Linked DNA regions of Homo sapiens: regions 2 and 3 are each linked to region 1. Evidence: promoter capture Hi-C in 16 types of primary human blood cells and fetal thymus (Javierre and others, 2016). All regions are on one chromosome and are shown on one strand. The core of a region is centred on a gene start or on the middle of the fragment in contact, and the rest is flanking DNA. Distances in the headings are between cores, read along the strand shown. Region 1 holds the start of ACAT2 (acetyl-CoA acetyltransferase 2). Region 2 has its middle 110 kb from the start of SLC22A3. Region 3 holds the start of FNDC1 (fibronectin type III domain containing 1).

Region 1 (4,335 bases), core at 675-3,174:
AAGGTTTTTCTGGAAGAAGTGATGTTTAGGGGGAGTTTCAGAGGTAAATTTCTGGTTTGGTTAACAGAAGATAGTTTCACTGCTCACTGAGATTACAGAAGAAACAGGCTGGAAGAGTTTGGTTTCAATATGTCAAATTTGATGTGCTTATAGGAAATTTTATTTATTTGAGACAGTTTCTCTCTGTCGCTCAGGCTGGAGTGCAGTGGTGTGATCTCGGCTCACTGAAACCTCTGCCTCCTAGGTTCAAGCGATTTTCCCATGTCAGCCTCCCCAGTAGCTGGGATTACAGGCGCACGGCACCACGCCCGGCTAATTTTTCTATTTTATGGTAGAAACGGGATATCACCATGTTGGCCAGGCTGGTGTCAAACTGCTGACCTCAAATGATCCGCCCTCCTCGGCCTCCCAAAGTGCTGGGATTACAGGTGTGAGCCAAGGTGCCCGACCTGATGTGCTTGTAAGAATTTAAATGAAGAGGGTCAGTCAGCTTAGGAGACGAGGTTAGATGTAAGGATTTCAGACTTGTCAGTATACAGGTGGTGATTGATGCCGTAGGAATGACTGGTATTACCCAGGGAGCTGGTGCAAAGTAGGAGCCTTGGGGAACATGTTAAGGGGATGTGAGAGTAAGCCCACAAAGACTCAGAAGTGGCCAGGGAGTAAGGGGAAAATGGGATAGAATAGAGCAAAAGCCACGGGAGGCATTCCTTGAATTCCTTGGACTCAGATATGTTAGGGGACAGGAAACACATTGAAGACAACTGAAGAGACTTCAGTGTGCTGCTGAGTTCTTAGCAGAGTAGACAGCTGATTTCACCACTATTCCAGACCCTAAAGATTTCTCCTGAAATTGCACTGTTATGCAATTTTTTTCCTTCTCTATTGCCCCACCTCTGGGGCCTACACTCTTTACCTTCTCTGATTTATCTGACCCATCCGCATATCTCTGCAAAGTCTTAATGTAGGTTTCCAGGATTTAATGATTCTTTCAATCAACTTTAAAGTTCTTCAGGAAGATTCTCCAGGTCCGTCAACAGTTTTCCCCTTCATGACTTTGTGACAAAGCTTTCTTGTTCCACTATCCAGGTGTTCCCAACAAGTTGCTGTAACGGTGGCCCCTCATAAGCTTGCCTGGAAACCCTAGAAAGCTCAGAAAAATTATGAACTTTGCCCAGTAAGAGGCTGGGAAGTCAGAAAGGGTTTTAAACAAAACTGACCCCACTTGTTACATGCTCCTTTCACTGTCCAAACGTCAACCAAAGGAACTTTTGTGACGCTAAGACGCTCCCGGCGTCCTCACCCGTTCACAGCCAGAGTTGATCTTAGAAGGCAGGGGGCTCGCACCGAGACGCTCCTAGCAAGCCCCTCACGCGAGCGAATGACTGGCGCCAGGAGAAACGCATAGGACCTCCCGAAGCCGCCGAGAGCAAAAGGACCCATCAGAGCTGTGCTGAGACCCGCCGCGGGCCGGGCTCGCACTCGAGATTCTCGCCCGTGGGATTCCAGTCCTGAGCTGAACGAGAGATAAGTCTTTGTCACCCCCCAGTCTTTACTGTTTCGAGAAACCCTAAGATTTTTTAAAAAAAAGCCCAAGACGTCAAGTCGGGGAACTCCAACATTGGGGTGTCCAGAAACACTGGGGTTTCAGGCGCTCTGTAAATGCGTCCGAGGTCCGCGGTTCTGCCCGCAAGCCCAGACCCCGGCCTCACTTCCGCCCCGCGCCCCGCGCCCCGGCCTCACTTCCGCCCCGCGCCCCGCGCCCCGCGCCCCGCGCGCCTCCGCCCGCCCCTGCTCCGGCCTTGCGCCTGCGCACAGTGGGATGCGCGGGGAGGTGGTGCGCGGGGAGGTGGAGGGCGAGGGGCGGGGCTACCTCAGGTCCCGCCCGCGGCAGGCCTGTGGGCTGCGAGGAGGAGCTTTGCCTAGCTTGCAGGCAGCGCAGGGCAGACGGCGGCAGGAGAAGCAAGATGAATGCAGGCTCAGATCCTGTGGTCATCGTCTCGGCGGCGCGGACCATCATAGGTGAGTGGCCGGCGGGAGCCGCGCAGAGTCCGAGGCGCCTGCTGCTTCGGCAGGAGCGCCGAGGGCCGGACTTGTGTAGGAGAGGGGCGTATGTGGAGGAAGCCGGTCAGGCCAAGCCGCGAGGAGCCGCGGGATCCCTGGAACCCTGCGGCTCCCGCGTTCCCTGACCTGGTGCTACAGCCCCACCCTCTCCTCTCCCGATGTGCGCACTCCGTCCCTCGTGCTTGGATTGGCTCCCGGGGTAGAGCCATCGCGTGGCCTGCCTCTCCCATTGGTTGGCGTAGGGAGGTGTTCTCCTCCGGGGCCCCTGATTGGCCGGCTCCGGGAGGCGCCATCGGTAATGCCTGCGGCAGGGGCGGAACTGCTAGGTGGTCTGAGCCCGGCTTTGGGCTGGGGTCGGGCTGTCACACAATGGCTAGAAGTCGTGACTTCGTCTCCTTCGTGCCGCATGGTTTTCAACGCCCTTGACCCGCCGGTTCCTTTTGTTTGGGAAGCATGGGGTCGCATCCAGTCCTTCGGATTTGGGGAAATAGAAGGGCTACAGCGGCGTCCCTAGGCCGTTCTGGAGGTCGCCTGTCCAGCCCTCGGCTGCTGCGAGTTGTGGCACCCACCTTGACCTTTGCTCAGACCAGCAGGTGTAGGAACGTGTGGGAGGAGAGGGCACTGCCTCCTCGCGTGGCCTTGCCAAACAGGGTCATGAGGCTCCCCTGCTCGTAGGTGGTTCCCGTATTACCCGCAGGCTTGTGATGTCCACGCTCTCCGCCTTTCTATTGTAGGTTCCTTCAATGGTGCCTTAGCTGCTGTTCCTGTCCAGGACCTGGGCTCCACTGTCATCAAAGAAGTCTTGAAGAGGGCCACTGTGGCTCCGGAAGATGTGTCTGAGGTCATCTTTGGACATGTCTTGGCAGCAGGTAAGTCTCAGTGATTCCAGGAGAAGTCAGGCTTATTAGAAACAGCCCATAAACACACACACACACACACACTCTCACACACTCACACACTCTCTCACTCACTCAAGTTCTTGCCTCCTTGCTTTTGCTCAGAGTTCCCTCTGTTATGATTCCTCCTGTTGGCCCCCTTCTTCCAGCCCTGTCAGTAGCTTCTATCCAGCTTGAGACTCAGCTTCTTGGCCAGGCAGGGTGGCTCCCGCCTGTAATCCCAGCACTTTGGGAGGCGGAGGAGGAAGGATCACTTGAGTCCAGAAGTTTGAGACTAGCCTGGGCAACAAAGCAAGACCCCGTCTCTACAAAAAATAAAATAGCCAGGTATGATGGCCTGTGCCTCCCAGCTACTGGAGAGGCTGAGGTGGGAGGATCACTTGAGCCCAGGAGTTTGAGACTGCAGTGATTGTGTCACTGCACTCCGTCATGGGTGACAGAGTGAGACCCCTTCTCTAAACAAACAAAAAGACTTAGCTTCATTAATATGCTTTTTGTGAATGAACTTAGACCACTGACCTACACCACCTACACTGCCTTTTCTTTTCCTTTTTTTTTTTTTTTTTTTTTTTTTTTTGAGACGGAGTCTCTCTCTGTGGCCCAGGCTGGAGTGCAGTGGCGTGATCTCGGCTCACTGCAAGCTCCGTCTCCCGGTTTCACGCCATTCTCCTGCCTCAGCCTCCCGAGTAGCTGGGACTACAGGCGGCCCACTGCCTTTTCATTCTTACGAAGCAGGGCCGGCCGGGCCCGGTGGCTCACGCCTGTAATCCCAGCACTCTGGGAGGCCGAGGTGGGCGGATCATGAGGTCAGGAGATCAAGACCATCCTGGCTGACACGGTGAAACCCCGTTTCTACTAAAAATACAAAAAATTAGCCGGGTGTGGTGGCGGGCGCCTGTATTCCCAGCTACTTGGGAGGCTGAGACAGGAGAATGGCGTGAACCCGGGAGGCGGAGCTTGCAGTGAGCTGAGATTGTGCCACTGCACTCCATTCAGCCTGGGCAACAGAGTGAGACTCCTTTTAAAAAGAAGAAGAAGAAGCAGCAGCAGGGCCAGCCTGACGCATAGGAAAGTATGCCTGCTCCTCCTTACTACCTCAAAGTGTCACTCATTCAACAAAAATGTATTCAGTTCCTCCTATGTGCCCCATACTGTGCTTAGTGCTGGGAGTATGGTTCCAACAATACAGGTAAGTTCCCTGCCCTCTTAGGGCTCAGTTCTGAGCTTGGAAAATAGGTGCCACATCATGCCCCTTGCAAATGGGGCATATCACTCCCCAGAGGAATATAGCTGAGTCCTGAGAGTGCCCCCATCTTCTGATTCTTTGGGTTTGAACACTCGTAATTAATTAATTAATTATTATTATTATTATTTA
Region 2 (4,335 bases), core at 1,018-3,517, 700 kb after region 1:
TTTCTGCTTCTGGGCAACAGACATCTGTGGTGCAGAAGTCCTCAGTCTACAGGTTCCCTGGTGGAGCACTCTAGGGTGTGAGGATGTGGGGTGGGAACTCTAAACTCAAAATGTATCAGCCTATCAGAGAATACCTCCAAAACTCAAAATTTCCAAATTGCTTTTTCAAGCCATCAGAACACCCTAGCTCTCTGAGGACCATGAGGAGCGGAGACCTTGTATTTGCACATTTGCTGGGATGGTGGGGAGGAGACTGGGGAGCACGAGAGAGATCAGCTACTGTTTAGGCTGAGCCAGAAAGGCCCTTCTCTCCTTCCTAGAGTGTCAGAGCATCCCAGAACATCACTTGCTTTCTAGGACTGCATAGGCAGGTGATAGCTCAGAATACTGGCGTGAGCCACTCGGAGCCAGAGTGTAATGAAGAGTACAGGTAAAAAGTGCATGTTGGCAGCACTTTGATAAATCCATGAGGACACAGACCACCACGCAGTTTAGGAAAGAATGAATCTGAAATATGTGGAAGGTGAAAGCTCTGTAAAGCAAGGAGTTTCTAACCAATAAAGTAAAGAAAAATCAAATCAACGGCAGAGTGAAATGCAATGTGATCAGGTTTGTCGATGGCATTTCATAAACCTGTGAAAAGAAGGCTCTTTAGGGGAGAACAGTAATTGAGCACAGGCACCCTGATGTAGAAGTGAGCCAAGGAAGCAAAACATGCAGGCGGTTGGGCCTGTTTCCTATGCGTGTTTCCTAAGAGATACCCAAGAAAACTGAACTTATGAAAGGCATGTTCCACTGAAACAATACCCAAAAGGTCCAGGTTCTGTGGGATTGGACTGATTACTCTTCATTTATGGGGATCATGACCTATAATTTTTTCCTGTGTTTGTGAATGGATGAGTAGCCTCGGCATTGAATTCAATGATTCACAAAAGTGTAAAAAAAAAATCGTGCCTGTGACAGACTGTAGGTAAGTTTGCTCTTGTCCTCCCTCACTGCAAAGTGTCACATTTCTAAAAACTTCCCTCTCTTTTCATCTGACAGTGAGACAATGGATATCCATAGAAACCCTCAGAGCATCTTCAATATTTTCCAGCAATATCGGAACTTGGTGCAAATCACTGCGCCTACAGATTTTGATGTAGCTACTTAGATCAAGAAAAAGATTCCAATTTTGGCCATTTTCAAAGTAGAGAACCTAAAATAATATAATTATTTTTATTTTTCTATATTTTTTCCTCCTTCAGAAAACATAGAGGCAGGTACTGATGCCTCAGCTGTGTGGGTTCTGTGTAAATGTAGAAGGATTTTGTGGGGCTTGTGTGGAAGGACAATATAGTTGGTTTCTGGGCCTGTTCTTACCTTGTTGTAAGACTGACTTGCCAGGGCCAGGAATGTGGGTGGGCCACACAACCCCCTACAATGCTTCTGGGACATTTCTTTGGCTCCACTTGAGGCTTCCCACAATCAAATGAAGAGGATGCTGTGGCACAAGGTGGGAAAGAAGTCGCATTTGAGTCCAAGTTGGCAATTTTGTCAATTAATTTAGGACAAATTCCAAGCACTGAGTTTTTGATATTTCAAAGGTGAAATTAAACAGTAAAATTATAAACAACTTTTAGATTTTTTTTCTAGGTTTCAAAAGTGGTAGTAAACAACACAGGATGCTCTCCTTTCAAGGAAATATAAGCGCTTTCTAATTATTTTGTTGGAGAAGTGATCAAAGAAATTGGTATAGTTCAGCATTAGAATGAGATCTTTTCTGAGAAGACCTTGATTGGCACAAATAGTTATTCGTCATTGTTATTCCGAACAATGTTTAGAACATGATGTCATCCTTCCCATCATCATCCTCATCACCATCCCCATCTAACCCACATAAAGTTTACAGAAAGGCATGAAGGTTTCTTTTGCATGTGAGTCTGTGTGTGCACGTGTGTGTGTGTGTGTATGTGTGTGTGTGATTGTATGTAGCAAGGATTACTGTCCTAAGTTGAAATGTTGCCTTCTCTCAGCCAGCTTCAGGACAGCTCCTCTGGGGAGCCTCCCATGACTAACTGACTGTCATTGGGGTGACTTACACACATGTGCCTTTATTTTTCTTTTACCTCCTCTCTGCCTTCTCTCTGCAGCCAGCCTGCAAGATCTCTGGAGGTAGGAACAGTGTCCCATCTTTGGTACCACCCATCAATGCCTACAACAGTGCATAGGCTACAGAGGGTGTTCAAAAATGCTTCTCTGTCTCCAGTCCTTCAAGGTCTTCAAAATTATAAACATTAATATAGTTAATAATATTCACATAATTATTAATAACAACTGCAAGAGGAATTTCCTCCCCAACCAACCAGAGATTCTACACTCCAGTGAATTTGGAACCTGAGTTTTCCAAATAACTGTCCATTTGCCATGGGCTGTTCTGAGAATCTATCTATATAAGTCTTTTTTTTTTTTAAAGAAACATTGCATGGAATGAAATCATCTTCCCTAGTGCTGAACTCAATTTCTGCTAATATGCCTTACACACAGTATACATGCATCATTGTACTAAAAGAGTAACTACAGAAATTATGGTACCTGCTCCTACTATTTAAAATAAAACTGAATGTTTCTATTTATTTTTACTTATTATTTATACTGAATGTCTTAGTGGAAATGAACTAGCTATTAAAATCATTCTCCACCAGAGTCTCTAGATTTCTCAAGCATGAGTCAAACCTGAATAAACCACATCCTTCTGCAGGAAACCAAACCCACCAACCACATCCTTCTGTAGGAAACAGTTCTGAGGATTTCCAAGTGTCTTATGGGAACCCTTCTCACAAGGCTTGGGGTTAACCTCACTTGTCTTACATCAAGGTTAGGTGGGGGACCTCACAGTCCATTGGGAAAAATCTTGCTCCCATTCTTCCTTCTTTCTCCAATCTTTAAGAACTCGATTCTCATACAACCTTTATGTGGGTGAGGACAGCAGAAATGCACCTGGGAAGCTACTGCACTTTCCTACCATAGGAGTCAAAGGTGCATGAGTCCCAGGCACAGTAGTGGGGTCTGAGGCAAGAAAGTCAGTGTGGGCTCAACTTCAAGGCAGCCTGTCAAGGATAGAGAGCCCAGGCAGTGAGAGGCAGTGGCATGTACCAGACGGGGCCAGAAGTGGAGAACTGGAACTGACCCCATCGAGGGACTTTCAGGTAGAGGAGCCACCAAGATGCTTCTGCAGAACAAACAAAAACACCCACTCAAGGAAAAGGTCAGCTATCAACTCACACTAAATCCAGAGACCACAATGCCACAATACAATAATATTGGCCAAGTAGAATCTTTACTATCACCCTAACCTCTCATTCTTCCCTCTTGCTCTCCCCAGGAGTGTCCCAAATGCGAAGCTGGGCAGTGTGGCTCCCATAATCTTCATCACTGCCCTGTACCGCCTCCCCAGGAAATCTTGGAATGGTGGTCTTCAGTGGACTTGGAGGCCAAGCTGCTTCCCCCAGCTCAAGGTTCTTCCACATGGCAGACCCAACCACAAGCAACCAAATTATACAAATGAAAAGTCCAGGACAGCTTTCTGTAACTAGGACAGACAAGTTGATTGGTCAGCAGAAAGTAAAATAGGGGACAAGTCCAAGTGGCTTTTTGTTTTTTCAGAAATACCCATGGATTTGTTATCCCAGTTGTTTAAGATCTAATGTCAACTCCACTTACCCTGATCCAAGCCTCATACTCCCAACAAGAGTCTTGGAGCAATGAAGAGGGAACCCAACAAACAGTCTCTAAGCAATGATGCTAATGTGAATCGTGAGGAATAATCTTAGGAGAAAGGCCATTTGGGGCTAAAGAGCTGCACTACCCTTCACTGAATTCCTAGGATGGCCATCTGTAGGTTTACAATGTGCACCACATGCTTAGCTGTGCCCTGCTGTTCGTATATTTTTCATACTTCTCAGCTGCAGAAGAGAAAGGTTTTTTATCCGAATGACTGTAAATTTCTTTTTCATGCATCCCATGCTAGACACTGAAGTGCTCAGTGGGACCACCCTGGGGCTGATTAGATCACCTCTAAGTGTGCTCTTTGGGAATTTTACATTTATTTTATTTATGTGTGTGTGGTGGGAGGGGCGGGTGTTTCCCTAACAAATGGGGCCAATTGTAGGGCAGGTTCAAGATGCCCATGACGAAGGGCAGGCTCTGGTGGAGAGGGCAGCCATCTCCTCCCCAGAAGCACTCAGCTCAAAAGCCATTTTCTGGTTTTTTTTTTTTTTTTTTTTTTTGCAAATCCATATGAAGGAAGCAGTTTCCTTACCAAAACAGAAGGCAACTTACCACAGAGAGGGATAT
Region 3 (4,335 bases), core at 1,093-3,592, 590 kb before region 1:
CAATTACAGAAAAGGGAGAGGCGAGGTCCGCTGAGTCCTTGGCCTGGGCAACAAGGCACACTGAAAACTGGGTTCCTTTTCGACCCGCATCGTGCGCGCCCTAGAAATGACAGCCAGACGGAGCAGGGTCTAAGGACGCTGAAAACCCCTGACGTGGGCGCGCCGGGTGCGGGTAGGGACGTGGAAGGACTGGGCTAGCCACAGGAACTACAGCGCTGCGGACCGGGTGAGGGGTCCCGGCCCGAGTCCCCACTTGGGGCGCAGAGGTGTTTCTGTAAGGGGACAAAGGGCACTCCTCGGCGCGATGGGCGACTTCCCCAGCCAGAAAATGAGAGGGTTAGACGAGGGGAGGAACTTCCTCAGCCACTTGGCCCGGCACAGCGACCGCCCCAAGTTCAGAACCGCTAAGTCAGTCCGGGGCGCTCCGGCCCCTTCGTCCCGCGCCCCGCCCGCCTCCAGCCCGGGCCCCGCCGCCCCCGTCGCCCCTGTCGCCCGGGTCGCCCCCGCCGGCCCTGGCCCCGGCCCCGCACACCGGCAGGGGGCGCCCGAGCGCAGCTAAAAGGCTCGGCGGGAGGTCGGCGGCCTCAGTGGCGGAGCGCGGCTGCCGGTGTGCGGCCGGGAGCGATCGCCGCGGGGCAGGGGCGCGGCGGGCACCGCGCAGAGCGCGCAGAACAGACGGACGGCGGCGGGGACCCGACGGCGGCGCCTCGGCACTCCCCAGACTCCGGCCAGCGCCCCCCTGCCAGCCGCAAGCACCCAGCCCCGGCCCACCCCGGGCTCTCGATGGCCCCCGAGGCCGGGGCGACCCTGCGCGCGCCGCGCCGGCTGTCCTGGGCGGCGCTGCTGCTCTTGGCCGCGCTGCTCCCCGTCGCCTCCTCGGCGGCGGCCTCAGGTACGCGCCGCGCCCGGGCCCCCGGCGCTCCTCAGCTCCCCGCGCACCCTCCTGCGCTCGGGCCCCGTCGTCCCGCTCAGTGCTGGCTACGGGTCGTGTCACTAGCCTGTGCGTCCTCGTCACTCGCGGGTCGGGGCACTTGGCGCCCTGTGTGGGTGGCGGGAGCGGGGACGCCTCGGTGCCCGGGGACCGCAGCGCGCTGGCGTTTAACTTTGCCGTCGCCCGCCTTGGAGTCGGGAGGCTCCAGCCGTCTAAGTGTCCCGGGAGATTCAGGCACAGCGGGGAAAAAAGGAAAAGAAAGGCGACTTTCAGCGTGCGGACTGGGGTAATGCCTTTCTTTGCCCAGAATTTCTCGGGAGCGTAGGTGGTCATCCTACTTTCTCCGCGTTCACCTCTCGCGAGGCAGGATGACGGGCGCACTCGGGAGACCGGAGGGAGGCAGAGCAGGGCTGTTCTAGAAGGTCGTGGGGGAAAGGCTGCGAGCTGCCGCAGGGCGTCGGGTGCCTCTGCGCTCCAGAGGAGAAGCGCTCCAGTGCCAGCTCGGCTCCAGGCGGCAGGAGGCCCGCGCGCCCGGGGGGAACGTTCAAGCTGGGAGAAAATGTTTGTCTTGAGAGGAGGGAGAGGGAAATGAGAAAGCTGATTCCAGAGAAACTCGCCCTTCCCCAATGGCTGAGGCTGCAGCCAGGATGGATGCTTCCTTTGAGAGCAATGCTTTTCAGAAAATGCTAGCGCGCTCCTGTCAGATTTCTTGCAAGCTTCCTGCAGAGAGAGACAAGTTTGTGGCGAGGTTTTCATTCCTAAGCCTTTGGCGGCCCTTGTTACCACCTCCTTTGCAGGCATTTTTACACTTGAAACTGGCTTTTAGGTTATTGGTTTGTAGAAATCCAAGAAGCAGACAATGATCGTCAGATACTATTCCAACGAGGGTACCAGTTTTATGATGCTATTTAGTGTATATATTGTTCTCTTACTTCAGGGGTAAAGGAAGAAAAGTTGGGGATCACATTACTTTGTGACTTTTTGGTAGATACATCATCCCAATGCTTGGCTCAGGTTTATGCGAGGTATTCTGATGCCAATGCCACTTTCTCATAAAAGGCAGTGCCTGCCGTAGGGTCTTTTTCTTCCCATTAGTGAACTCTAGGAAAGTATTCACTGAATACTTTGCACAGTACTTGAGAGGAATAAAACTAAATAAAGTCTTCCAACTTCCCCACCTACAACTCCTGGCTTTTGTTTTTCTAAGTGAAAATTTTCAGAGTGCTGGAAGAGTTTTTGTTTCTGAAAATGATCTGAAACTGGAACCAGTGCTGCCCTGGCTTTGTGGCGATTCCAGCCTTCTGCTTTTCCGATTCCTCTGCCACCTGCCCGTGGGTTGCATGTGAGTGGGTCCGAGCGGGGTTGTTTGTGAGAGCTCCTGGAATCCCACCGCGATCTGCACTCTTGCTTTTTCGCCTTCTGCTCTGTGAATCACTGTGCTGAGGAATGCTGGGGCTGGACAGCTTCCCAGCCCTTCTCTCTACTGTGTTGACGTGGGATCTACAGTCAAATGATGACCAGACTAGAGGTGGACAAAGGAGGACAGGCACATTTCAGAATGAAATCTACTAAATTTAAATTAAGTAATAGAAGGATAGAAACAGACATAGCAACCTGTAGATAGCTCCCCATGCTGTGGATGAAATTATGGGGTACATAACTTCTTTCATGGGCTCCCTTTGACAGCAACGTCATGGATAGACTGCTCCCTCTCTCTGGTTGAACTAATGCATGGACCAAGCGAGCTGCTTGTGTCAAGCTCTCCCCTTCACCACCCTTTTGGGGCCAGAATCTCTGTAAGGAAATTACCCACGGCCACATAATAGTGGCTCCGAGGGACTTTGCTTAAAGCAGGACACACTGAAGATCTGGATAAGCCCTTCAGTGTAGGGTCAATTAAACATAAAACAAAATAAGCAAGCAGTGTCCCCTCCTCCACTCATATTCATCCCTACAATAGGATACTATGCAAACATTAAAATTATGATGGCCTTGCCAGTCTGGTATGATACATTTTTCTAAACACATGTGGATGTACTCACACATGCACATATTTGCAGTGGGTATCTTAGGATGGTTAGGGATGATTTTTATTTTCTTCTTTAAAGAAGCTTTTAGGGAATTTTCCATGTCAAAACTATTTTCAAAGTAATACTAAGATTACTAAGATGCTATTTTCCTTTTTCACAGTTGACATTTGCACTGAGGGTGCAAAAGCTTGATGGGTAAACTGCGGGTGTCTTACTGAGAATCAAGGCAGGGACATCACCATGCACTAGTAGTCTTTGAATTTTGGGGGGACTTTGCAGTTAAAAAAAATTTGCCAGTTTCATTAAGAATGTTCTTGATGCCACAGTAAAATTATTAATTTTACCAAATCTTTGTATCTTTGAGTGTATGTCTTTTTAATAGTGTAAATAAATGGGAAGGACACATAAGTTACTACTGCTGATGACCAAGTTCAGTGGCAACCCCAGGGGGAAGCACTGGTGTGATTGTTTGTGTTATGCATTAAGCTAGCTGGTTTTTTAAAATGGAATGTGGTATTTACCACAAAGAATGACAACAGACAAACTAGAGCTATTCTGACTTGGGTATTTGGCCGATGTTTTCTCAAAAATGAACAAAGGGAACTTGCTACTTCTAGTAAAATAACTGCTATTATTGCTTGCCAATGATAACATTTCAGCTTTCAAGTGAAAATCAGAATTTTGCCAAGTTGTTTCCACCACTGTAAGCTTGAAAGTTTCCCAATATTTAAATTTTTTTCTAGTGAGATCAATGGTGATATAAATGAATGTGATTTGTAAATGTCATCTCATAAAATGTGTCAACATTTGGATGATCTGCATAACCAAATAAACCAATAGATCCAAATGACCAGTGTATAGCCTTACAACAATCTTGCATGGGTAAAAGGTCTGTTCAAAGTGCATGATAGCCCAATGGATTTTTAATGTAACAAAATATGAAAAATTCTTCATATGATTTCAGATTCTAAGAATTGGCTACTTGATGAATTTTGGTGTAATATCAAAGATTTTTCAAAATTATCCAAAAAGGCTATTGAAATAGTTGTCCAGCTACACATCTGTGTGAGGCTGGGTTTTCTCCAAGCAAAACGACATATTGCAATAGATTGAATGCATAAGCAGATCGGAGATATTCTATTAAAAAGATTTGCCAAAATGTAGAAACAAAGCTGCTCTTCTCACTCATTTCTCTTTGTTTTGGGAAACAGTTACTTTTCATATAAATATATTTGTATGTCAACATGTAATGGTTTATTATTGTTTTTTAAAATAAATAAGTACATATTTTCGTTTTAATTCCCAGTAAAGTCAATAAGGATAGATAAAACTCACAGAAACATAACCTCCTTGGCATCCTCGTAAATTTAAGAA

What was found. Contacts are between HindIII fragments. The CHiCAGO score rates a contact against its expected background, and 5 or more counts as called.
Region 2: a fragment that was not itself captured here is called in contact with the fragment with the promoter of ACAT2 in region 1 in 4 of 17 cell types (naive CD8 T cells, total CD4 T cells, total CD8 T cells and 1 more); the score reaches 8.2 in naive CD8 T cells.
Region 3: a fragment that was not itself captured here is called in contact with the fragment with the promoter of ACAT2 in region 1 in 5 of 17 cell types (megakaryocytes, M1 macrophages, naive B cells and 2 more); the score reaches 14.1 in megakaryocytes.

What each region holds. Positions count from the first base shown.
Region 1 is chr6:159,760,121-159,764,455 of GRCh38, forward strand. ACAT2 (acetyl-CoA acetyltransferase 2) reads left to right here and starts at 1,925. Exons shown (of 9, transcript NM_005891.3): 1 at 1,925-2,022; 2 at 2,799-2,933. The coding sequence starts at 1,968. SOD2-OT1 (SOD2 overlapping transcript 1) reads right to left here and starts at 2,212. Exons shown (of 2, transcript NR_037166.1): 1 at 1,874-2,212; 2 at 138-1,516. It also overlaps a transcript of SOD2 not described here. RefSeq lists enhancers at 1,178-1,237, 3,306-3,806 and silencers at 1,668-1,727, 1,748-1,897. The HindIII fragment of the contact is 5,525 bases long and covers 1,128-4,335 here.
Region 2 is chr6:160,459,893-160,464,227 of GRCh38, forward strand. No RefSeq gene overlaps it. Among named protein-coding and RNA genes, the nearest start is that of SLC22A3, 110 kb to the left of the region's middle. RefSeq lists an enhancer at 3,046-3,095. The HindIII fragment of the contact is 8,063 bases long and covers 1-4,335 here.
Region 3 is chr6:159,168,814-159,173,148 of GRCh38, forward strand. It overlaps FNDC1 (fibronectin type III domain containing 1), which reads left to right and starts at 587. Exons shown (of 23, transcript NM_032532.3): 1 at 587-892. The coding sequence starts at 784. It overlaps FNDC1-AS1 (FNDC1 antisense RNA 1), which reads right to left and starts at 1,194. Exons shown (of 4, transcript NR_121668.1): 1 at 999-1,194. RefSeq lists a silencer at 466-635 and an enhancer at 1,442-1,941. The HindIII fragment of the contact is 1,395 bases long and covers 1,646-3,040 here.